4 separate regions of the Homo sapiens genome follow, and regions 1, 3 and 4 are each linked to region 2. Evidence: promoter capture Hi-C in 16 types of primary human blood cells and fetal thymus (Javierre and others, 2016). All regions are on one chromosome and are shown on one strand. Each heading gives the region's core, a stretch centred on a gene start or on the middle of the fragment in contact. The rest is flanking DNA. Distances are from core to core; before and after follow the strand shown. Region 1 overlaps MSANTD2 (Myb/SANT DNA binding domain containing 2). Region 2 holds the start of TBRG1 (transforming growth factor beta regulator 1). Region 3 has its middle 20 kb from the start of ROBO3. Region 4 holds the start of OR8B3 (olfactory receptor family 8 subfamily B member 3).

The links. The method cuts DNA at HindIII sites, captures the fragments that hold promoters and counts their contacts. A CHiCAGO score of 5 or more calls a contact.
Region 1: a fragment that was not itself captured here is called in contact with the fragment with the promoter of TBRG1 in region 2 in 11 of 17 cell types (naive CD4 T cells, total CD8 T cells, naive CD8 T cells and 8 more); the score reaches 7.5 in naive CD4 T cells.
Region 3: a fragment that was not itself captured here is called in contact with the fragment with the promoter of TBRG1 in region 2 in 3 of 17 cell types (naive CD4 T cells, total CD8 T cells and activated CD4 T cells); the score reaches 5.7 in naive CD4 T cells.
Region 4: a contact is called between the fragment with the promoter of OR8B3 here and the fragment with the promoter of TBRG1 in region 2, in 3 of 17 cell types (M0 macrophages, M1 macrophages and megakaryocytes). The highest score is 6.1, in M0 macrophages.

What each region holds. Positions count from the first base shown.
Region 1 is chr11:124,771,735-124,778,023 of GRCh38, reverse strand. MSANTD2 (Myb/SANT DNA binding domain containing 2) reads left to right here. Exons shown (of 4, transcript NM_001308027.2): 2 at 3,050-3,305; 3 at 4,970-5,030. Among named protein-coding and RNA genes, the nearest start is that of ESAM, 13 kb to the right of the region's middle. The HindIII fragment of the contact is 5,004 bases long and covers 1-4,708 here.
Region 2 is chr11:124,619,438-124,625,664 of GRCh38, reverse strand. It overlaps TBRG1 (transforming growth factor beta regulator 1), which reads right to left and starts at 2,801. Exons shown (of 9, transcript NM_032811.3): 1 at 2,432-2,801; 2 at 664-734. The coding sequence starts at 2,581. LOC124902779 (a long non-coding RNA gene) reads left to right here and starts at 2,464. Exons shown (of 2, transcript XR_007062932.1): 1 at 2,464-6,227. PANX3 (pannexin 3) reads right to left here. Exons shown (of 4, transcript NM_052959.3): 4 at 5,309-6,227. The coding sequence ends at 5,730. RefSeq lists an enhancer at 2,655-2,724. The HindIII fragment of the contact is 1,322 bases long and covers 1,687-3,008 here.
Region 3 is chr11:124,842,154-124,848,256 of GRCh38, reverse strand. No RefSeq gene overlaps it. Among named protein-coding and RNA genes, the nearest start is that of ROBO3, 20 kb to the left of the region's middle. RefSeq lists enhancers at 4,539-5,100, 5,101-5,664. The HindIII fragment of the contact is 7,355 bases long and covers 1-5,560 here.
Region 4 is chr11:124,393,390-124,400,472 of GRCh38, reverse strand. OR8B3 (olfactory receptor family 8 subfamily B member 3) reads left to right here and starts at 1,449. Exons shown (of 2, transcript NM_001005467.2): 1 at 1,449-1,783; 2 at 3,105-4,939. The coding sequence starts at 3,122. The coding sequence ends at 4,063. It also overlaps a transcript of OR8B2 not described here. The HindIII fragment of the contact is 12,656 bases long and covers 1-5,325 here.

The DNA.
Region 1 (6,289 bases), core at 957-3,456, 150 kb before region 2:
TAATTGGAAGGTCTCCATAGTTCCTTTTTATCCATCTCTAAACTCCCTCAAGTTTAACTCAATCCCAGTGCTTCTTACAGTACCAGTCAAGCCGAAGTTTCAGTTCTTACTCTTTTTTTTTCTTAGTTGATGTGATTTAAATAGCCTCTCCTTGGATCTGTGGTCTTTACTGAACCCAGAAGTTACCTCTTAAGTGCATTTATATCTTGAGAGAGTTAAAATCAGTTGGGAAATCTTTTTTAACATGATTTCAATACATCAAATTCCTATCATGGATTTAAAAGTTACCAAACATCTTTCCTTCAGGCCCCTGATAGATATTTTACATACTAGCATAGTGCAGTATTCAAGTGTATTACAAAAGTACACTACAAAGTAAGAAGTAGCAAGATCTGTTAGTGTCTTTTGATAAATTGTAAAATGTGTCACCTGACTTTTCTTCCATATCTGTAACCATTAGATACTGCTAGTTTCCTTATTCACAATTACATAAGCCAAGTGAAGTATTAAGCTCAATTTGGTGGTTCCAAAGAGAGTAAGAGTCTTTGCTGTGGTTTCCTACCATGTCTATCGCCAGAGATTGGTGGCTTTGCTTATGCTTGTGTCACTTCCTGATATGTGTGGCACCTTTCTTGAAAGGAATGTTAGTTTTATTCCCTGACTTCCGAAATAACCGTCAGCAACAGAGCCAACTGGGCCCTTGTGTGTGCTGAATGCTTTTCTCCAGGGAGTCAGTAAGTAGTGAGCAGTGGCATGGTTTCCTTCTCCATTTATGGCCTTGGAAGGGTGAAAGGGACATGGTTGGGACTCTCCATTTACGGTCCTTGGAGGAGTTGAAAAGAGTGGTTGGGGTGTTCTTGGAGGCAGAAACTAGACATTGTGAGATAAAAATAAATTGGCAAGGGATGTTTGGAATTCAAATTCCAATCCCTGCAAGGAGGGCAGAGGGCGCTGGGAAAGGGGGAGTGTGTAGAAAGTCAAATGAGCTCTGCCGCAGGCATTTGTCTCCTTCCATTGGAAGGTTTGCCCATGACACACATTTGCCAAGTTCATATTTCTGGTTTGTTCTAGAAAGTTTTGTCTTATGTAATTGTGACTATCTTTTACAAAGAGGAAGAAGAAACACTTTTAAAAAGAGTGTATCGTTGGAAACCTCAGTTCTCTAAGGCATCATTTGAGGCTCCAGAAGAGATCTCAAGAAAGGGAGAATGAGGCAGATGCTTGTGCAGGGGGTAGGCCGGCTGGCTTTAGGGTGGGAGACTCTTAATTGTTGCTCTGTTTTTGTGTGAGGAAGATCATCACACATGTCGTGCTTTTATTATTCCTTTTACCCATCTAGATTTCTGGCTTCAAGGGACAAATTTTTAAAGTATCTGATAGAGTGTCTTGTAGATTGTCAACTGTGATTTAAAGATACTGAACTTCCTGGCTGGGTGTGGTGGCTCACGCCTGTAATCCCAGCACTTTGGGAGGCCAAGGCGGGCGGATCACCTGAGGTCGGGAGTTCAAGACCAGCCTGACCAACGTGGAGAAACCCCGTCTCTACTAAAATTACAAAATTAGCCGGGCAGGGTGGCGCATGCCTGTAATCCCAGCTACTTGGGAGGCTGAGGCAGGAGAATCACTTGAACCCAGAAGGCGAGGTTGCAGTGAGCCGAGATGGCGCCATTGCACTCCAGGCTGGGCAACAAGAGCGAAGTGCTGTCTCAAAAAATATATAAATAAAGAGACTGAACTTCCTTGGAGGCTTTGTAGATATTATTAAGAGTTGTTTTAGTTTGGTGAAAATAGTTAACATATTGGCTTATGGAGAGCAATCTCACGTTTAGGATAAATTTAGTCTGGCAGTGCCTACAAATTAAGTCTGAGGTGAACTACTTTTGAACAGTTGAGTTAGAAAGTATTTGGTAGCCACCAGGGAAAAGAGATCTTATTTCAAGAAAATAATTAGTGAAACTCAGTAAAGTAGAAGGGAGATTAGAAGGAACAAAGGGAGGCAGAGATGGGATAGAGACTGGTTGCAACTTAACTAAATTTGGAAGCTGGGATTAAGCCCTTGATTTATCTTTTGAAATGCCATATAAGATAGCATAAGATGTACCATTAAATTCAGGAAACTGGGCTAATAATCAGAAATATGTGTTAGAAATAAAGACCATGGTAAAAATGGAAGGGTTGTACAAGAGAATAAAATTATTCAGGTTTTGTCTGTGGATTTGCATAATGATATTTATTTGCTGTGTGCCACATGGCAGAAAAGGAAGTGAAATAACACCCCTCTGTCCCGTCCTTTTCCCCAGAAAGAAATCACTGGCTTCATTTGTTGGTTTGTTTAGCTGGCAGCTTGAGTTGGTAGAACAGACGAGTAGATTGTCTAGCTTTAGACGTAGGTATTAGTGTACTGTTTCTTGATCATTGATGTTTGAGACCTGGAATTTGTAGCATTATTGATTTGACCTCTGTTTTAAATTTTAGCGGCTTCCACAAAGACTGAGTTAGTAAGGAATACAACTATGTAAGTAATATGTTTTACTAGCTAATTTGTCTAGGCAATTATTTTTACCCTGTATTCATTCCTTCTTAATCAAGAGTAAGGCAGGTATTCTTTGCTTTGGGAAATTCTTCTTTCTGTCCTCCCTTCCCTCACTTTTTCCAAATTCTGGGCACAACAGCAGCTCTCTCTCTTCTGTGGCAGGTGTGCATCCTATTGGCTGGCTGGTATTTCTTGTTTTTTTTCCCCCTTATTCTTTTTAAATGGGGGTGGGGGTATAAAAATATGTGTATGGGGTACATGCAATAATGTTGTAATGTTTCTTGTTGTTTAATGGATAATTAATTGCAAAATAATTGTTTTAATTATAACATGTTTGAGTAAATGCTAAATTAGTATTTTTTTCTAATATAATAATGAATTTGAAATCTAGCATTCCTGTAACAATGTGTCTATGTTTGTCTGTCTGTGTCTGTCTAATAGTAATTAATATCTGTGGTCCGTACCTGGAAGAGGAAGTACAGCTTTAAAGGAATAACAAAAGACTTTGTGTCTTAGACCCTTCGCAGGTGTTACAGTCGGGTGAAAGAACATGGTGTTGGGAAAAGAAAGAGCAGTTACACATTTGAACAGTTGGAACAGGTGTTTGGTCAGGGAGGATGGGATGCTCAGCCCTGCCAGCCTGTACTTATTAACAGTAGTGGCTTGTACCAGGAGCTGGAGTCAGATGGCAGCACTATGGAGGACTATTCACAGGAGGACTGGGGAAACCACAGTCAGGATCTCCATGGCTATCCAACAGATCAGGAATTGGGTAAGAAAGCCAACATATATGATACTTATGTTTGTGTATATTTATATACCTTTATGTATGTGCACCAGTACTTATTACCTGTAAATATCTTTGGTACTGTTCCCTATAGTGGTCAGCATAAGGCATAAAGGGCATCTCTGCCTTGTATGTCTTTCATGAATTTGCATGTCCCAGTCTATTTGGGGCAATGTGGGCATCCTTGGTTTAGCCTTAAACTGCCAACTGGTGCTTGGTGTTGTTCATTTGGCAAGTTGTTTACCAGCAGGATTCCCAAAGACACAGAAGAATTTCTAATTCTGAGCTATACAAGTACACTCAGTGACAGGTAACATCCTATGCAATTCTAAATATCCTGTACCTTCTAGTTCTAAGATGACTGCTAAGATATCTTGGCCCAACTGCTGTAGATGTTGTTCTTAGGAATTCCTTCTTTTATCCCAAATACATTTTTCTTTTCTGTTTATGATTTGGAAAAGGTCTTCTCTCAGACTTGAGCCTGAACACAAAATGAGGGGAAGCCTCCATTTATCTTGAATAGAGCTGTTATTTGAACTGTGTGATCATGTTCCTTCACACTTCTTAAGGGATCGCATCCCAACAGTAGCTGGAATTATTTATACAGTCATAGGCATTAAAAATGGAAAATAAAATTCCTGGTCATCAAATCTAAACTTGTAGGGCCTAACTAAGAGTATATATGTAGTTGTGGGATTGTTCTGTTTCTTTGCGCATTACATGCTCCAATTTTTATTTTCATAATTTGATTTCATAATTTGGAGGTACTGATCAATCAGCCATTGTACATTAACAGGAGGTTATGTAATGAGTGCTCACTTAGAAGGGTATATTCTTGCTCCCAGCCCTTGGTACTCAGGCAGCCCCCAAGGAAGTATAAGTAGGATTGGCAGTATAAACATGCTCCCTGAGCTTTAGATAAAAGTCCATGGGCTCTGTTTTTTACCAAATTCTTGATGATAGAAAAATGTTAATTCCAAAGAAAAAGGACTAAATGCTAATATGTTTCTTAGCAATGTTGTTTTAAAAATACTCTTCAAATATTGGAAGACAGTCAAAGAAGAAAGAGGTTATAAAACTATAAGACTAACAGCGTATAAGAAATGGACTTAACGATTAGAAGAATAAAAGGGGTAGATGGTAAGCGATCACTACCGATTAATTTCAAAGGAGTAATAAGGTCTAAATTACTTTGGCATTCCATAACACTGGTTTTGCTGTAGAGAGTTAAGTCACTCAAACCTTTGGGAAAAAAGCAATATGCAGAATATGTTGATCCTGACATTGGGGGAATAATTGCTTTGTAAAACCTACATAGAAAATCTAAATGGAACAGAATTATTTTTATTCTTGTCCTTTTAAAATCATGTCTGCAGTGAAATTAAGCTTTAAGCTCCTAGCTAGAAATCCACTGGTGACCTTGAAGAATTTTATACTTGTAGAGCTGGTTTCTGATGTTACATATAAATGTATGCATCTCATTATATAAGAGCTATATTTATAAATCTGACATTGGACAGTGTTTGACACTAGAATAAAAGCCTGGTTTTGGAAAGTATGGAATGATCAGTAAACATAGCTACTTATCTACATACATGCATGCCACCACTTAGGAAAGTATAACTTTTTTCAAAATCTTTGCTTTTCAGATGAAATACCTGTCACAAAGAGAACATTAAAAATAAAACAAGAGTCTTCTGAAGAAGCACAGTAAGTAGATGCTTCACCTTTCCAGAAAGTGTGTCTGCCTAAGTTTAATGACCATTGGGAAGATCAGAAAATATTTAGACATATTATGAAAGTTCCGGCCATTCACCAAGGAGGCATGTCTATTCATTCTTTAGATTTAATCAGGGACTCACTTAAAGCTATTAGAAAGCATCACAAACATAGCATCACTGGTAATTCCAGGAACTGTGATGTCTATACGTTCTTTTTTTTTTTTTTTTTTTTTTTTTTTTGAGACGGAATCTCGCTCTCGCTCTGTCACCCAGGCTGGTGTGCAGTGGTGCAATCTCTGCTCACTGCAAGCTCTGCCTCCCAGGTTCACGCCATTCTCCTGCCTCAGCCTCCAGCGTAGCTGGGACTACAGGCGCCCGCCACCACGCCCGGCTAATTTTTTGTACATTTAGTAGAGATGGGGTTTCATCGTGTTAGCCAGGATTATCTCGATCTCCTGACCTGGTGATCCGCCCACCTCAGCCTCCCAAAGTGCTGGGATTACAGGCGCGAGCCACCGCACCCAGCCAGATGTCTATACGTTCTTTCGTATCTTAGCTTAACCCTTCCAGTGATTATCTAAAATGTTGAGAATTTTGTATAGAAGAAATAAATGTGTTACAGGAAAACAGATGTGTTTTTGGTATTTGCCTGTGTGTGGATGTGGACATCTGGATGTTTAATTAAGGCACAAAGATGAGTCACAGGAACCTGAGTTTATCTGAGGTTAGGTGAAATGATAGGCGGACCAGAGGGACACCTGAAGTATTTTGGGAATCAAAAAGAAAGCTCTTAGATGACCTATTATACATTTGGAGAAGAAAGCAGTTGCTAGAGGAAAGACTAAGAAAGTCCAGGGACAGAGTCCTCCCTGGTCCATACAATTTGATCTTCCCCGAGTTTAGCATTATCTTTTGTGCAAGGACATCATAGTTCTTGGAATTACCAGTGACATCATATTTGTGGTTCTTTTTAATAGCTTTAAGTGAGTCCCTGATTAAATACAATTACTGAGGAGAATATACTGACCGAAAATTTATGGGGAAAGTAAGGAACGCCATTCATTTTTTTTACCTGTTAACCTTGGAGCATTGATAGCACCCACTTATTCTTGAGTGCTTCATCCCACACATGTGATCTTGATGTCTGAGAGATGGTAGAGAAGAGGCAAAAAGGGCTGTGATAGGTAACAGGCAGCACAACAAGAAAACATTAGTTGTTTTTTGTTTTGTTTGTTTGTTTGAGACAGA
Region 2 (6,227 bases), core at 1,552-4,051:
TCAGGAAGGAAAGGAGCAGAGAAATGAACTTCCGTATTGTCTCAATTCAGTATTTTACTCAAGTACTGGGAAAAGCCAGAATTATATACAAAGATTACTATACTCATAAAAGAAAGGTTCTTATTAGGCCCTATGAATCATAAAGCCCTGGAGGATAATCAATACTTCAAGAGGCCAAGGATAAGAACTGTAGCTTATCTCTTGCATCTGGACGGTTCCTCTACCTTGATGTTGGACGGTGTTAGGCTTCTGAAAGGCACATTATTTACACATGTATATATACCCATTGTGCTTTGCACAGAATAGTACGTACAGAATAAATATTTGTAGAACGAGAGGCAGTTGCTTTTATCACTTGGCTTTTATAATTGGGCCATAAGATTAAATAATCTTAGTAAGATTATTTATTAGATGTGGCAAGATGGCTTTTTCAGAAAGATGAGTAGAGGAGCTGTCTCATCGCCATGGCCCAACATAACTTGGGTGTGCAGGCACCAATGCCTCAGGCTGTAAGTTTCTCTGTGCTTGATCAAGTGGCCAAGGGGCTGTGCGATACGCATCAATCCCACTGGGAAAAAAAGTCTCCAGAGCAGTAACACCATTATCAATCACCAAATCAATCACCAAAAAGGTGATGCTGAACACAAAATGAAGCCAGCTCACCTTCTTTCTTCTTTTGCTTTAAGAAATTTTTCCTCAAGACGAGCAATTTCATCACAAATAGCAGCATTTTCCTTTAAGTAAAAATGTGAATATAATAACATAAAATGAATAAAAAAATCACATTATTATGCTGGGAAGAGGATCCATATTTCAAACCAAAAAAGCTTGTATTACTGAGAAGAAGGAGCTATTCGACCGTGTGACAAACTATAAATAAATCCATAGATAAAGGTAGTCAGGTTCTACTATGGACAGGGTATAGCTATGTAATTTATTATCCAATCCGGGACATCTTTGAGTGAAAAGGGGGTACTATTAATGCTTATGCCAGAACAATACGGTGAACCAGGACTGTCCTGGGCAAGCCAAGATTAATGGTCACCCTAATTAGTATAGCCTTTGGCAAAGAAAAAGGCATACTGCTTAAATCCTTATATGCTTAAATTAAATACTATAAATATGAAAACTGTCTATTCCCAAGTGCCTCAACTCTTGAAAAACTTACAAAGCCAGTCTAACCCAAATAGAGAAAAACTGGACAGAACAAAATCAAATTTAGTGTGTAAAATTCTTAAACTTCACAATCTACTTATACGAATTCAAGTATTATCTTTTTTCTTTTTTTTTTTTTTTTTTTTGTAAATGATGACTCAATCTATCTCCCAAGCACCAATCCTGAAGGGAATGCTGAATCTGAATGCCCCCATAGGTGGAACTTCAAACTCTCAATGTTCAAAACAACATCGCTTTTTCTTCACAAAATCTTCATTATGTATTTGATGGAACCAATATCCTTGAAATAACATAAATTCCAAGCTTTAGGTACCTTTGACGTATAGGGGATAAAAGAAAGGGAACAGTCAATCAGATGCTAAGTTCTCTTAGTTTTACTTTTCTTGTTTCTCTCCAGTGCAAATAGCAAGCAATACACATAGCAAGTGCTGAATAAGTGCTTTTGGAATGTGTATTCTAATTTCTGAACCTTTCCTTATGCTTCCAAAAATGCTGAGAGACGTTCAAGCTTTTGGTAGAGAGAAGAGATGAACTGTTGACTTGGATGTGGGGGGACATTTGAGGACTCCACCCCTATTTCCAAGCACTGAGGCAAGCCAAACTATTCTAATATAAAGTTATGGCTGGCAAGCTATATTAAGTTTATTCACTCAATAAATCCAGTGCTTCTACAATAAAAGAAAGGAAGAAACACTTGGAACACTCAAAGGTTAGAGGGGGGAAATTACTGACAGTTTCATGTACCTCTTTGGGCAAAGGGTCAGTTATGGGGATTTGAGGTGCTCAGAAAATAGTCTGTGTACTGGAAGTCATAAAACGGAATCAGGTTTATCTAAGTTGGAGTCAGGGCTCTGACACAGTACCCTTGGGCAAATCATCTCTCTGGGCTTCAGTGTTCTCATTTTACAAATAATGCCTAATTCTCAGGGCTGTATCTCGAGAATCAAACACATTTCCTAGAGTCCTGCAGTAACAACGATGACTAAAATTTATTGGTATGTCTTTTACGCACCAAGCACTTTTCTTTACTCATTTAATATTCATTATTCTGCAAGACAGTTACTAGCTCATTTACAGATGAGGACACAGAGAAATTACGTAATTTGTCCAAGGACACAAGGCTAACAAGTAGTAACGTATACGGAAAAGCCAACACTGTATTAATACTGTCACACTGGGAAGGGGGAACAGCTTGGGGAAAGATTTTGTGAGGGAGTCTCCAGGAGGGGACCGGCTGAACGTGGGTCAGACTCACAAACACCGTGGCCTTGGCCGCTTTGCGCAGCCGCAGGTACTTCAGCCGGTACTTCTCATTCTGGCTCTTCTTCGGGAGCTTTTTCATCCTGGCCTTGCTGGACTGCAGCGGAGCCCGCGGCGAGGAAGCGAGGCCGTCCAGCAGGCTCATGGTCCAGCCCCGCTACGGGGGCCCCAGGACGCTGCCGGCATCGGATCCTAAGTCGGGGAGCGGGCGGGAGCGCTGGCTTTGTCTGTTCCGGGCTAGCGGAATCGGGCCTCTAGGAATCTAGCTCTCCGGGACGTTCCCAGGGCTGACCGCAGGGCCAGAGACACCCGCAACCGAACGGGCTCCCGGCGCCTCCCAGCACTTCCGTGTCTGTCTTGGAAGTAAGCCCTTCCCGGAAGTTACGTCCCGGTGTCGGCAGTGTGTAACTTCCGGGGCAGGGAGAGTAGGGTGGTCTGGGCGGTGCGATCGTGGGCACCGGGAGGAAAGAGACAGCTGGGGGCTAGTGCTGGATGAGGAGAGGAGGGAGGGCCGGCGGCCGTGTGCTTAGCTGAAGGGTACTATAGTTGAACCAACGAACTAACAAGAAGCTTACCAATGCGAGCTCTCATTCACGCTCCCCCGCTGGGCCACTGCGTTTTAATACGTTTTTCATGCTTCGTGCAGACAGGCTTTCCCAGACTGTAGGACAAAGTGAGCCCAAGTGCTGGGACTCTGCTTCTTTCCCTGCTTCGTTCCTTTCTGCAGCTCACAGAAATGTGTTTGCAGGGCCTCCTAATGCTATCATCTTCCCAGGAGCTGGGAACACAGTAGTGAACAGGAAGAAAGGCCTTGGCTCTTTCTAGTAGGGAAGATGAGAGATTTAACACGCAGTTTTAATACTAGCACTAAGTAGGCACTCAGTAAATGTTTGTCTAGTGAAACCAGAAGTGTATTTCTGTACATAATATGTACATGTATATGGTTCTAACTTTACAACCAAGGTCTATTTAAAATTAGGGAAGATAGAAAAATCTTTAGGGTGCGGTATTGGTAAGTGACCCAGGCTGGATGGCAGAAGGCTTGCTTGCATCTTCTTCCAGCGATGCCAATAACTAGTTCAGTAACTCTCTAGTTTTTTCTCTCAAAAAAAAAATTTGCTGTTCTGCTGTATTTTGTCCTTGCGGGCTTTGGGGTCTGACTTTATTTGTATTATTTATTTTCATATACATGTATCACATCTAGGGGGAAGAAAAGTGCTATCCTTTGTCCTAGTTTGCAGGCTGTTTTGGCCAATGGACTTTAGTGGGATTTGCATGAAGATATTTTTTGTTTCTTCTTCATTGGACACATTTCCTTACACTTACAAAACATTTCATTCGAACTTTAGAAATTTAGAAAATATAGTACAAGAAAGGTTTAAAAATCCATAATGCTACCACTTGGAATGAACTACTTTTACCATGTTAGTATATGTGTCTAATATTTTATGCATTTTTGTATAGGTTAGACAATACTGAAAATAAAGTTTTCTTTTTGTTCATTTACCATTGTATCATTTCAGTTTCACAAATGTTAGTATAGCTTCCTTATAAGCATAATTTTAAGTGGCTGGTTAATATTCCAGTTATGGCTATATTATATTTTGCATAATTATTTCCATGTTCTTTGACTTTTTGGTCAATTCCATTAAAAGCATATCTTTGCGTCCAAAGCTTTTTCCATATAGGACTGTTCAGAGGCTGGATATGTGTGCTCCACAAAGGTCATGCCACTGAGCAACTCATTCAGTCCTTATTTGTTTAGAAGAATATTTACCTAGTGCCTATTATGATACCACCTTTAAGAACCTTAATTTAAGAAGGAAAGACAGACAAGTAAATTGGCAATGTTAATATGGTATAATAAGTTTGTTTCAGAGGTAGGTTTTATTTTATTTGGCAGCACTCAGGGAAGGAGGGAGGAGATAGGAAAGGTTTCTTAAAGGAGATACATCTGGGCAGACTCTGAAGGAGAGGTAGTGGTTGGTTGGCCCAGTGAAGAACAAAGGGGGGCATGCTGGATGGTGGAGACAGCATATGCAAAGGCTCAGTATGGGAACTGCAAGTAGTTGATCAGTGTGAAAGATGTGTGTAGAGAGAAGCAAGAAGAGAGACTGAAGCAGTAAGTAGGGTTTTTTGGGTCATGAAAAGTCTTGTGTACCAACTGAAGAGTTGGACTTTGACCCAGTGACAATAGGAAACCATCTATCAGCTCTTTGCTTGTGTTAGGTAAACTTACCTGAATCTGTCAGAAGCAACACAACTTTTCTACTTAACTATACGAAGAAGGGTCTAAATGGCCTATGCAAAAATTCTTTAAAGAAATGCATAATGTGTAGCTCTAAAAAGAAATATAAAATGGCAGACAGCATGATATTGTGTCTGAGTGTGGTCTTTGAAGTCAGACCAAAGTTCCATTAACTACAGGCATAGGAATGGGAGTTAGAAGCTAAAATAGGGTAATAAATCAGAAGAGAAAGAAGTTCAATAGCACTTTACTGTCTACCCATTTGTAAGTGCTTGCTATTCAGTGATTAGCTGTAAGGGAAGGCATAGTATCCTCTGGAGTATTAAAAGCATACCTGGCTCCGTTAACAGTTGTGAAGAAGTCCATAGCCCATAATCCCAGCCCCTGGTGAAATGAGTTCCTGGTTTAGATGGTGAAAAGTGTATCTGGGCACCTGAAGGCTCCACTCACGGCTGAGACATGGCCCCAGCCTTGTTCTACTATGTCCTTACATCCTAAGAGCAGATTACAAATTGAAGCCATCATCTCCCAGCACTTTGGAGGCTACAGAGGACTTGGACAAGGTTGATAACTTCTACAAAGCAAGCTGGGTAAATTCCTAGGATTTCAGGCCACACCAAAGGGTTTCCAGGGGTTTACATCTTTATTAATCTTTTGCCAGATTGCCTCACTTGCTCTCTGGGGTAAGCTGAATGTGCGTTCAAGAAAGGATATGGAATTGCCTCCATAAACGGACTTTAGAATCTTCTTTCCTTGCAGCATGTCTAGACTGTATTTCTTTTTATTTATACTATCCTCATAGAATGTTCTAGACTTAATTTTTTAGCTCTTTGACTCTTCGGCTCCAGCTTTCACATTTATTTCCATGTCTTGGTTATGTCTTCTCACTTTTAGGATAACATGATAAAAGATATATGATTCAGTTAAATCCAAGCTTAGCAGTTTTAAAATGTGTAATTTTTTGGTGTGTATGTGTATTAGTGTGCATGTCTTATGAGGAAGGAGAGAGACTTTCCACAAGCTTTCTTGCTCCATGGTTTCTTAACTATGGGTGTTCATCACATGCCGAGTTGGTGAGGTGTTTGGGTTTTGAGGGTTCTAAGCCAGCCAATAAAGTCATAAAATCAACTACTGTGTCAATATTGTGCTTCTGGGTGGTTGTATCCTTCAACACACATAAGACACTCAGCCAGCTAAAAGAGATGAGCTCAGAGATGTTAGCTCGGAGGAAAAGAAGGATCACATTGAGGTCATTGATGGGACATCCTAGCATCTTTCTGCTGAGGAGATCAAAAGCTGGGAGCATCTCATAGACAGATAAAAGTCGTTTGTCCCACCGACATAGCCGTGTGAGGTTGTATATTATCACTGGAACCAATATGGTGTATATTGCTACACTGGAGAGGCTAACAATCTGGAAAATGGACAGTGATGTCAGCCTGCATGTGATCAGATTGGGGACATGGGTCTCATCACTTAGCAGCCCTGTCTTGATGGAGCAGCTGAATTCTTCCTGGAAGAAGACATCCAGATGGAAATGACC
Region 3 (6,103 bases), core at 634-3,133, 220 kb before region 2:
CTCCTGTAATCAGAAATGGGGCTAGACTTTTCTCAGAGTCACTTGCCTTCAACCCCTGAGCCCTCCACTTATCAGGATGAGGGCTTTATTTTCCTCTTCATGGTCTTAATCATAAAAAGATTTCTCACTGTGACTTTGGAGCCCGGTATAGATTCTAACCTCCATCATCTCAGGGTCCTGTATCTCTAAATGTGAAAACTTCCAAATATTCCATGATAAGACAGTATACCTATTCCAAGGCAATTACACTGGCATTAGAAAAGGAAAAGGAAATAGAAATGGGTCTAGAGTTATAATTCAGGTGGAAAAAGTATAAGCACTGTACCTGGCACATAGAAGATATTCAGTAAATATTTCAATTATGCTGGATGATTTCCAATGTGCCTATGAAAAAGATGGAATGAAAAATAAACCAAAGTATAACCAACAGTGGAATTAGGTGTGAGAGAATGTATACAACTTTTCCATCTTTCCTCCATTTTTGGATATTTTGTCATCCTAATTAATAATGGAAAAATATACAATTATCATTTAGAAAGGGTGAAGTAGAGGAAGGTGGGCAGGCAGATTACGGCCAGCTCTCCTTAGCGCCCCAAACTCCTGCCTCTTTGGGCATCGTAGGACAGCCCAAGGCCGCAGAGGCTAGAGTCTCTTTCCCCCCATTGGTTTGGCACCAGAGCCAGCAAGGCCAGTTGTTTGTATTAGGGTGAAAGAGGGAACAAAGAGGTGGGAATAGGAAGTAAGTGCAGAGAATCAGAGAAGTGTGGTTTCTTTGCAAACATCCTCCCCAAACCTCTCTTCTATGATATTTTAAACAGATGTCGTCCAGGTTTGTCTTGAATCCTTCCAGAGGCAGGGAGCTCAGAACCTGATGGGCAGTGCCTAGGACAAGGTAAGGCAGCTCTCACAAACAGCAGGTCTTCTCTACAGACACCTGCCTCATCTGTCGGGCTGGTCCTGCCTCTAAATAATTGGTTCAGAAATGAATAGGAAGAGAAGCCGGGCACAGTGGCTCATGCCTGTAGTCTCAGCATTTTGGGAGGCTAAGACAGGTGGATCACTTGAGGTCAGGAGTTTGAGACCAGCCTGGGCAACATGGTGAAACCCCATCTCTACCAAAAAACAAACAAACAAAAATTAGCTGGGCATAGTGGTGTGCACCTGTATTCCCAGCTACTTGGGAGGCTGAGGGAGGAGAATCACTTAAACCCAGGAGGCAGAGGTTGCAGTCAGCAGAGATTGCACCACTGCACTCCAGACTAGGTGACAGAGCAAAACTCTGTCTCAAAAAAATAAAATAAAATAAAAAAGCGGATGAGAAGAGAGAGCAGAGATGGAAGTCCAAGATATAAGGAAAAGAATATCTCTTGGCATAAGAGTCACATATTGATTGAGACACTAAAGGCTGAAGGTCGAGCTCATTGTTTAACTTGCCTTGAGCCATTTCTGCTCAAAATCTACAAGAGGACTGAGGTTGGCAGAATTTGGGGGTTGGCTGTGTAGCAATGACTTGGGCCAGTATTCAGAAAAGCAGCTTCATAATCCCCATTTAAATCCTATTTCAGCACAATTTACGTTGGAGATGGGAGTGGGGACTATTCCATGGGGCTATTTCAGAAAGACCAGGGATGCTGTCAATGGAAGCTGTGAAAGTGTCTGTGTGTGGAGGGTGGAGACAGGGCCCATGTGTTTTGGGCTCTATTAACTATCTCCCTCCCATCCATCACAGCCTCCCCCCGGGCCTCCACAGCCCTGGCAGCTGGGTCACCCCGGGGAGGCTGGGCTCGGGGTCCCTAAAGGGAACTAGGCTTCAGGCAGAGCAGTGGAGACACATGTGTGCCGGGCTGGGTTGGGGCCGGCACCTCATTGAGAAGGGGGCTCTCCAAGCTGGGCTTCATTAGGGCAGTGGCACTAATAGGGAGGGGGTCCTGGGGGCTGGGCTGACAGCCAGTTACTTGCTCGTCTGCATTATGGATTAACCCATCTGGGCCTGGGAGATTGGCTCTGAAAGGGGCACAAAAGGCGGGGGGCGTGACCACAATCACACACTGAATTATCCCGTCTGAGCGCAATTGTCCACCAACAAACGGGGCCTCAGGATGGTGACCCCCTTGGGTTCTCTTCATCCCCCATCCCTTGCCCCATAGGAAAAGCCAGAGATAAACTGCTGCCTGGTTAAAAAACAGGGTTTGGGGCAAGGAGGACAAGGATGCCATTCCAGAGAGACGAGGAATTTAGGGGAGAGGAGTGGGATTTGAGGTTCAGCCAGAGAAGCCAGGAGCCAAGCAAAAGTTCTCCCAACATACTTTTTGACTTCAGCTGTCCACCTCAGAAACAAAGAACGATGTAAGAAACACACCTGTCGGGAATACCAGGCAGAATCCAGGAGCAGAGGGGCGCAGTGTAGGGGAAAGGCAAGGGAAGGACCAGAGTCAGGTGTCTCGCATCTCACCTGTCACCCCCTCTGAGGCTAATTGATTCCAGACATGAATAAGGGGCTCTCACTTGGGGTCTTGAAGGACCCCTGCCCTGCTCTGGCATCTCTGATGCTCTCCCAGTGGGAGTGCCCCAACCCCTTCCCCACGTCCTCCTCCAGGAATAAGACCCTGTGCGATGCAGGGTGATGGAGGGAAGAACAGGAGGGGGCGGCAGGCAGGGGGGCCCTCTCCTCTGCCTAATCCTCTCATTACCATCTCATAATCAGAATCACGCTTTCAATGTAAATGGGGATGTTAAATATTGGTTTCTCTAGACACAAGCTCCTTTGGAGAAAATTATTTATGCTCCCCCTTTTGCCAGTACTGGTGGCCCCCACAGTGGAGGGGGGGATGGTGCAAAGCATTACTGAGGGCTGGGGGCTTTAGAGTCAGACTGGTGGGAAGGTGGAAGTGTCTGACTTCCGCGGGGGGAGACTGATTTGTTTTAGGTTGGCCTGGGCAGCCTCAGTTTCCCTGATTCAGCAGAAGAAACTCATCCAGAGGAAATTGGCTCATTTCAAACTCATCAAGACTTGGTAGGAGCTGATTGGCTTCCGGTCTCAAATCATTCTCGACTGGAGAGCGATATGGAGTTGTAGATCCCAAAATCAGATTACTAGGGGAGGGGAAGGGCATTCACGGGAGAGCTCAGGCTCTTTGCCCTGTTGCCCATTGCTAGAAACTCCTGGCATGTCCCAGGGTAGTGACCTGCACTCTCCAACCAAGGACAAAAAGTGGCAATGTCCTTTCACATCCAGAACTTCCTGTTTGCCGTTTCACAGCAGTCCTGCGACACAGGGAGAGCAGCTACCATTCCCAACCGGCAGGATGAGGCTCAGAGTGGATAAGCAACTCACCCAGGCTCACACAGCTGGTAGATGACAGATTCATATGGTAACATGGGTTATCTGAGTCCAAACTCACCCTCATCCCTTCGCACCATGCTCTCTTAAAATTCAGGCTACTACTCCTCTGCCACTTGTAGGAAGATGGGGAACATTTGGTGTGTCCGTCTTTTGACTACAGAAGAGTGTGCATTGAGGGTGTGCGTTGAAGGCGTGGGGGTCACTGCCTGAGGTCAGGCAGAGGTCACTCTCAGCTCTACTGCCGCAGTTAGGACACAAGGATGCGGACTGCTGGAAAAGCCATCACCCTGCCTGCTCTCTCTCTCTGTTCAGTGGCTCCATCCCTCACTGCCTTGTCTCTACTCTGGGTTCAAAACTGGGAATGAATGTGAATCACAAGAGTCTTGAGCTCTTGGCCTCAAGTGATCATCCTGCCTCAGCCTCCCAAGTAGCCGGGATTATAGGCACAAGCCACAGAGCCCGGTAAGTTAATATTAATAGTATTAATAATTGCTTCTTCTCACATTTGCTTAGCATTTTACAGTGTACAAAGTCCCTCTCTGGGCCAGGCACAGTGGCTCATGCCTGTAACCTCAGCACTTTGGGAGGCCAAGGCGGGCAGATCACTTGAGGTCAGGAATTGAAGACCACCCTGACCAACATGGTGAAACCCAGTCTCTACTAAAAATACAAAAAATTAGCTGGGCGTGGTGGTGGCCACCTGTAGTCCCAGCTACTTGGGAAGCTGAGGAAAGAGAATCACTTGAATCCGGGAGACAGACATTGCAGTGAGCCAAGATTGTGCCACTGCACTCCAGCCTGGGCGACAGAGTGAGACTGTGTCTCAAAAACAAAAACAAAGCCCTTCTCTGGATTTGAGGGTATGATTTGATGCTCACACCCGCCTTGAGAACTAGCACCACAGCCTTATGCTAAGGATAGGGCACAGGTTCTGGGATCAGCCTGTGTGTGTTCACTTCCGGCTCCACTGCGTATTAGCTGGGTCAGTCCTGGCAAGTAGCAGTGCGACCTCAGGCAAGTTAAGACCCTGCTCTCTGCCTCAATGTCCTTATCTCTGAAGTAAAGACGATAATAACAGAGCCTACTTCCTAGAGCTGTTGGGAAGAATCAATAAGATTATACACGCCAAGTGCTTAGAGTAGTGTCTGGCACTCACTAAAAGCCATTTTTAGGGCGGGTAAGGAGTGTGAGCCCATCTTACAGACGCAGAAGCTGAGGCTCAAAGGACTAAGTAACTTGTCTAAGGTTACTCGGTTGGCACGGCAGAGCTGATCCTTAATTCGGATCTGGAATGCAATCTGCAGGTGGTCTGGGACCCATGCCCAAAGTTCCCTGAGGAGAAGAAGAAAGTGGCGGTCTCCTGAGGTCCTTTGTTGTGTTTTAGATGGCAAGGCAGGCTCTTTTGCTGTTTAGCCGGGTTAGCCACAAGCGGAGGAGACCGACTTCAGTGCGGCCGGTATGACTTGGGGCGACCCCTCCTCCCCCCCGCCCCTGGCTTGAGGCGGCGAGAGGAGCCTGGGGCACCATGTGGCTTGCGCTAAGCCGCTACTAGAAAGAGAGGGCGGGAGATGCCTTCGGAGGACCCCCTCCAGGGCCTCGGAGAGGCCTTCCGCGGCTCAGCTCCCTGCGTTTAGCTTTCTCCTCATTAACTCCCCGGCCTCATTAATCAGCCCCGATGAAATGCGCCCCCGGGAACGCTGCCCGCCCGCTCCGCCGTTTGGCGCTTTAATTATCCTCCCAGCGGGAGGAGGCGGGGTTGGCGAGGCTGTGTGTGTGTGTGTGTGTGTGTGTGTGTGTGCGCGCGCACACACACACACACACATACACACACGCGCGCGCACACACAAACGCACACATGCATGCACAGGTCCGAGGATGTCCGAGCCAGGCAGAGCCTGGGTCGTGACCCAGCCAGGGCTGCAGACCCGGCTGGCCTCGCAGGATATTACCTCAGCCCCAGCAGCCCTAATATCTCCTGGGCATCTGCCCAGCGAGCCTACTGCCATGCGGTCGTTTGCATCAAGTCCCTTCCCTGCAAGGGAAGGGGGTCCTCTTTCTCTCCAAAACAGTCCACAAACCTTCATCTCTTTTGTTTAATTTCATTGACTAACCAAATCCTTACTGGCCTGCACCTACTTTGTGCATTGGGAACATGGTTGGGAACATGATTTAGGAGATGGAGATACAGACATAGCCCCTGTCAGGCATCAGGAAGCTTCCACACCGGCCAGGAGGGAAACAAGTGAAAAAGCAAACCAAACAAAGAGCAAAACCACCCATCAGTGGCAAGGTCCTCATCTTAAAGTGAGCCAGAATGCTGTGGAAGTGCGGAGTAGGACATGGAATGCAGTCAAGGCTTGCCAAGAAGGCCTTTCCTAAGATCAAAGCCTGGAGTGGGACTTAAGCTAGAAGTGGAAGCCAGCCAGGGAAGCAGTGGATGTTTAAAGGAGTAAACAGCAAATACAGAGAGGACATAACATAGACAAAACTGTGTGCACAGAGCCCTGTGGCTATTCCGTCCAGCTGGAGGACGGAGTTGTGACAAGGAGACAGCATGAGGTAAGGAGCTAGCCATGGCAGAGCCCAGGACATGAGGAGCCTTGTGTGCTGTGCTAATGTTGACTTCGATGTAACCTAAAGGCAATGAGCAGTTAGTGACGGATTTTAAAGCCAGAGAGTGACATGGTTAGACATATGTTTTGGAAAACCTCATTGCGAGTGAGGAGGATGAGTTGGAGGAGGACAGGAATGGAGGAAGGG
Region 4 (7,083 bases), core at 200-2,699, 220 kb after region 2:
GTTGGTCAAAGGGTGCAAAGTTTTAATTAGAAAGGAGGTATATGTTTTTGGAATCTATTGCACTGACTGGAGAGTATAGTTAATAATAATGCAATATATATTTCAAAATTGCTAAGAGAGTAGATTTTAAGTGTTTACACTACAGAAAATCAGTATGTGAGTTGATAGGTGTGTTAATGATCTTAATTTAATAATTTCATGATGTATACATTTATCAAAACACCACATTGTATCCCATAAATACATATAATAATTACTAATAAAAAATAAGAAAACAAAAGTTTATACATCTCTTTTAAGATGGATATTTTTGGCTGGGTATGGTGACTCACTCCTGTAGTCCCACCACTTTGGGAGGCCAAGGCAGGTGGATTACTTGATCCCAGGAGTTCAAGACCAGCCTGGGCAATATGATGAAATCCTGTCTCTATAAAAAATACAAAAATTATCCAATGGTGGTGGCATGTGCCTGTAGTCCCAGCTACTTGGGAGGCTGAGGTGGGAAGATCTATTGAACCTGGGAGGTTGAGGCTGCAGTAAGCTGTGATTGCAGCAAAGCAGGACACAGTCTCAAAAAAAAAAAAAAAGAGAATTCTGTATCCTGACTTAGGTGGTGGTTACATAAATATGTACATGGGATAGAATTGCATAGATTTGCACACACATACATACGAGCATGTTAAACTAGTGAATAAGGTCTGTAGTTTCGTTAACATTATTGAACCTATGTCAATTTCCTGGTTTTGCTATTGTCCTATAGTCGTGGAAGACATCGCCATGTGAGGAAACTGGGTGAAGAGTTCAAGGGAATCTACGTATGACTTTTGCCACTTCTTGTGATTCTAGTAATTTTAAAATAAAAAGGTAAAAAAATAGATGCCTTCTCACAAGCACAAATTCCTACCTACAGAGAAATTCTAAAGTCACACTGTCTTGAAATAACGGCCCATGAATAGTGATTTTTCTTACGGATTTGATTTTAACATGAAAGACAAAGACATGTTGAGTTAGAGCAACCCAAGGTAAATACATTTTTATGAAATAAAGGATAATTCTATGTTACACAAAATTTTTATTAAAAAATCTGAAATCAATTAAAAGTATCCCTTTTCTTTATGCCTATGAAGTATGCAAAAGTAAAAATGGATTATTTGAAAGATTATTTAAAAGGACTCACAATATTAAAAATGAGCATATAAACTTCACTAAATTATACTTACATTCCTGTTAAAGCTAATATACTACCTAGGATTATAATTAGCAAAAATTCTGACAATCATTACATTTACATCTTTATACATGAGAGCAGATGCTCTTTCTCCTATGCCCTGTGGATTGTATAATCCCTGATGAGAAATTTACCTCTACTACAACAAATTAGGCTGTAAACAAGGGCATACAATTTCTTCCCTGCAGAGTTTGTCATGGTAGGGGAGGTCCTGAGAGAGACTTACTGGGGGATATGTAATCAGGTCCAAAAGAATTGTAAGCCTTGAGCAAATGCCATGTGCTCTATGACATGGTAGCTCTGGTTTGAAGTGCAGTTTTCCAACAAACCCTCTTGGCAAATTTATAAATAATAGTTTGATCTACACCACAAAATGATTCCCAGAACATTCAGATTCTGAGATCTCTGCTCAATGCTTTTGCCAGTCAAGGGAGAAGAAGATTCTGTGACTACATCTGATCAACATAGATACCTTCACAGCCATTTCTTCCTCCAGGGCAGTGGAGGTGAAACACATATCAATGGTCAGCACTGAGTTCTCTGAGTGGAAGGAAGGTGAGTTAATCAAGTTTCTATTTCTCTCTCCTGGATGTTGCTGAAAAATGGGGAAAAGTATTCTATTCAATAGCAAGAAACTTAGTGGTATGGAGCTCTGACTCTTGGGCTTGCATTTTTCTCACACTGTTCTCTCTGTTGGCTTCATTCTTAGCCTGGTATCAAGATAGCAATAGCAGTTCCAAGTGACACATCCAGAACAGAGGAATGCCAGGAAAGGATATTTGTCTCTTTATTAAAAAATATATTGACATGTGCTATACATATAGAAGAGTTTAAGGGTCATAAAAATACCAGTTTGGTAAAATTTTACAAACTTAACAACTAATATAACTGTACCCAAATTAATTATGTTTCTCTTATGCCTTCCTACAAAGACCTGTGAAAGCACATTCAGCTTCCTTTCTTCATCCTGTCTAGCTAGGATGGAATAGAGGAGAATGTGTAGAAACACTTATGTGATTTGTATGTGGTGAATCATAAGGCTTTGACTACTAAGGGTCTTCTGTTATCACCTGGTGACTTCATGGATTCTTATAGTAAGGTATCTAGAAACCCTATAGGAGACCCCTGTCTAGGAAACAGAATATCGGTATGGTCTCTGCCCTAAAGGAATCCTCCCTTACCTGGTGGTCATCACAAGGAAACTGAAGTGTCTAGTAGAATAATGGAAACATAAGTAGAAACTAGGAAGTGGCCAGGCTCGGTGGTTCACACCTGTAATTCCAGCACTTTGGGAGGCTGAGGCAGGTGGATCATCTGAGGTCAGGAGTTTGAGACCAGCCAGACCAATATCATGAAACACTGTCTCTACTAAAAATACAAAAATTAGCTGGGATCGTGGCATGTGCCTGTAATCCTAGCTACCTGGGAGGCTGGACAGGAGAATCTCTTGAACCCGGGAGGCAGAGGTTGCAGTGAGCCGAGATCCCACCATTGCACTCCAGCCAGGGCAACAAGCGTGAAACTCCATCTTAAAAAAAAAAAAAAGAAACTAGGAAGTGAAGGGCCAGATGGAAGCGAGGGAGATGAGACACATCCACATAACCCAAGCTCAACAGCAGGTAGGCCTGTGCCTCAGCTACTCCACCTCTCTGTCTTCTAGTAAGGACAGGAGCAATTGTTTGTCACATTCAGTCTGTACAGACAAAAGACACTGACTGAAATGTTGAGGAGTGGGAGTGGCAGTACATTCAGAACATTCAGATCCCATGAAACAAAGAAGTCACCCAAATTCCTACAGCCTGAGTCCCCTCCTCATTAATGAGATTTTGTAAAAAGAAATCTGTGTTCCTAATAGAATTTTCTTTTGTCTTCCCAGATTTTTGAAGACAAAAAATGCTGGCTAGAAACAACTCCTTAGTGACTGAATTTATTCTTGCTGGATTAACAGATCATCCAGAGTTCCAGCAACCCCTCTTTTTCCTGTTTCTAGTGGTCTACATTGTCACCATGGTAGGCAACCTTGGCTTGATCATTCTTTTCGGTCTAAATTCTCACCTCCACACACCAATGTACTATTTCCTCTTCAATCTCTCCTTCATTGATCTCTGTTACTCCTCTGTTTTCACTCCCAAAATGCTAATGAACTTTGTATCAAAAAAGAATATTATCTCCTATGTTGGGTGCATGACTCAGCTGTTTTTCTTTCTCTTTTTTGTCATCTCTGAATGTTACATGTTGACCTCAATGGCATATGATCGCTATGTGGCCATCTGTAATCCATTGCTGTATAAGGTCACCATGTCCCATCAGGTCTGTTCTATGCTCACTTTTGCTGCTTACATAATGGGATTGGCTGGAGCCACGGCCCACACCGGGTGCATGCTTAGACTCACCTTCTGCAGTGCTAATATCATCAACCATTACTTGTGTGACATACTCCCCCTCCTCCAGCTTTCCTGCACCAGCACCTATGTCAACGAGGTGGTTGTTCTCATTGTTGTGGGTATTAATATCATGGTACCCAGTTGTACCATCCTCATTTCTTATGTTTTCATTGTCACTAGCATTCTTCATATCAAATCCACTCAAGGAAGATCAAAAGCCTTCAGTACTTGTAGCTCTCATGTCATTGCTCTGTCTCTGTTTTTTGGGTCAGCGGCATTCATGTATATTAAATATTCTTCTGGATCTATGGAGCAGGGAAAAGTTTCTTCTGTTTTCTACACTAATGTGGTGCCCATGCTCAATCCTCTCATCTACAGTTTGAGGAACAAGGATGTCAAAGTTGCACTGAGGAAAGCTCTGATTAAAATTCAGAGAAGAAATATATTCTAATTAGAAGCAGTAATAATGTAAAACGATTGAAGAACTTTAAATTTTTATTAGTGTGTTCCATGAAGAGATTTTGTTGTTTCTACAGATGGTGTTATGTGTGATTTAATAAACTTGTCTTATCATTTCTCTTATGAAATCATCTTGTCTCTTTTTTTGGTTTTGCATCTCTGGCACTTCTCACAATTTTACTAAATAGGTCATGGCATCTTTGTAAAAGGAACATATGCACTGATATTTTTCATTATCATTTTATATCCTTCCTCTCTCCTGGGCTGTTCTTAATTGGACATATATGGTAAATTTCATGAATTATAAAGATGTCAAAGTCACGGCTTTCTCACCTAAACTCAGAAGTGCCAAATATGATAGAAGCATTCTTATTTTTATCAACATTGTTACAGATATAGGCAGCTGGATTTGATGAAATGTCTCCATTACAAATGGTAGGTAGCTTAAAGCAGAATGAGCACCCCTTGATCTTGTCCTTTTGTTCTATATTGTCACCATTTTGCCTTTTATTATTCTGACTTTTCTTGTTCCCTTTGAGAATGGCAAAATTTGTACCACATGCCGTTTGCTTCTGAGAACCTCTATCAGTCCAGTGCATTTGATACAGCAGAGAATATGTGTGTCTCCACCTTTTATTGCCAAAGGCAGCATTTACAGAGGATGATTAGAGAAATAATACATGTGGACCTCAGGATTCCAATAAGTGGGTCCATTGTTTACATTATAAAACTTTCATTCATTGCTATCTAAAACAGCATTGAAAATTTTGAAAAAAGCGTGTAGTTCCTACTGTAAATGTTATTTTTTTACTCGTTATAGGTAAATACTGCACATTAAGTTAGCAGAAATATTTTACACAATGGTTACTTATCCAATGTGGTTTGTCATGAAAAAATGTATATTAATTTTAATAAACTATATTTCTACAAATATTTTGTGAGCCTACTTAAACTTTATCATCTCACCAACAAGACGTGAAACACATTTTATATAAAGGTTATTTCTCATAATTCCTTTATTTTGTCGAATTCTTTTCCTGTTCATGTATTTAAAATGTCAGATATATTGTAAAATCAAGAAATAGTTGTTGAATTGAAGTTTTTTTGTTTTGTTTTGTTTTGTTTTTGTCTTTTTTTTGAGACAGGATCTCACTCTGTCACCTAGGCAGGAATGCAGTGGTTCAATCATAGCTCATTGCAGCTTCCACCTCCTGGGCTCAAGTGGTTCTTCTACATCAGCCTATAGTTTAAGCTTTTTTTTTTTGTATGGTTTTGGTTCATTTTTAGATTAACTTTTGTGTATAGCATGAGGTAGAGGACTTCTTCAGCATCCTGTGTAGCTGGGAGTACAGGCACACACCATCATGCCTCCCTACTTTTTAAATATTTGGAGAAAAAAATTTAACTCCTGGCCTCAAACAATCTTCCTGCTTCATCCTCCCAAAGTGCTGGGATTACAGGTGTGAGCCACTGTGCCTGGCTGAACTGGAGTATCTTGCTTAACACCAACAATAAATGTATTACTTTAAGTAATAATTAATAACATATAAAAATAACGACAATTATATATCTGAACAAATTTGGGGTTTAATTTATATTTTTGGAGGTGGACTGTGGTAGCCCCAGAGAAGAACAGCTCAGCTCCCCATGAAGAGACCCATCGGTGGGGTGCATGGCTGACTGAAAGTCTATAGTTGCACTTCCTTGGATCCACCATGGTGTTTAGGCAGAGTACATTCTTACTCTGAGATGTCCTGAGCCAATGACTCAGCAGGGTGGGTGGGACTTAAAGAGAGCTGGCCAATTTCCATCTAACATGTATCTTTTCTGATAGGAAATCTTTGCTTAGAGACTTCCTATCCTCCTGACCAAGACTTTTTAGAACTGCTCTATGGTCTGAGATTTTCCTACCCGAACTTTCCATTTCTTTCTCTTTTCATCCCGGCTGAGGCCTTCATCCTGGTCTGAGGCCTTCATCACTGACTCTTGCTCCTTTCAGTTTTATCCTTAATAGGCATTTATAACAAAAAATGTGTTGCAAGTCTATTTCTTGACATCTCCTTCTAAGGGGACCCTAAATGACAAAGCAGACTTATATTAGCTGATTTTATTTATTTATTTATTTATTTATTTATTTATTTTTATTATTATTATACTTTAAGTTTCAGGGTACATGTGCACAATGTGTAGGTTAGTTACATATGTATACATGTGACATGCTGGTGTGCTGCACCCATTAACTCCTCATTTAGCATTAAGTATATCTCGTGCTAACCCTCCCCCCTCCCCCCACCCCACAACAGTCCCCAGAGTGTGATGTTCTCCTTCTTGTGTCCATGTGTTCTCATTGTTCAATTGCCATCTATCAGTGAGAATACGCGGTGTTTGGTTTTTTGTTCTTGCGATAGTTTACTGAGAATGATGATTTCCAATTTCATCCATGTCCCTACAAAGGACATGAACTCATCATTTTTTATGGCTGCATAGTATTCCATGGTGTACATGTGCCACATTTTTTTAATCCAGTCTATCATTGTTGGACATTTGGGTTGGTTCCAAGTCTTTGCTATTGTGAATAGTGCCACAATAAACATACGTGTGCATGTGTCTTTATAGCAGCATGATTTATAGTCCTTTGGGTATATACCCAGTATTGGGATGGCTGGGTCAAATGGTATTTCTAGTTCTAGATCCCTGAAGAATGGCCACACTGACTTCCACAAGGGTTGAACTAGTTTACAGTCCCACCAACAGTGTAACTATTTCTCCACATCCTCTCCAGCACCTGTTGTTTCCTGACTTTTTAATGATTGCCGTTTTAACTGGTGTGAGATGGTATCTCATTGTGGTTTTGATTTGCATTTCTCTGATGGCCAGTGATGATGAACGTTTTTTCATGTGTTTTTTGGCTGCATAAATGTCTTCTTTTGAGAAGTGTCTGTTCATATCCTTTGCCCACTTTTTGATGGGGTTGTTTGTTTTTTTCTTGTAAATTTGTTTGAGTTCATTGTA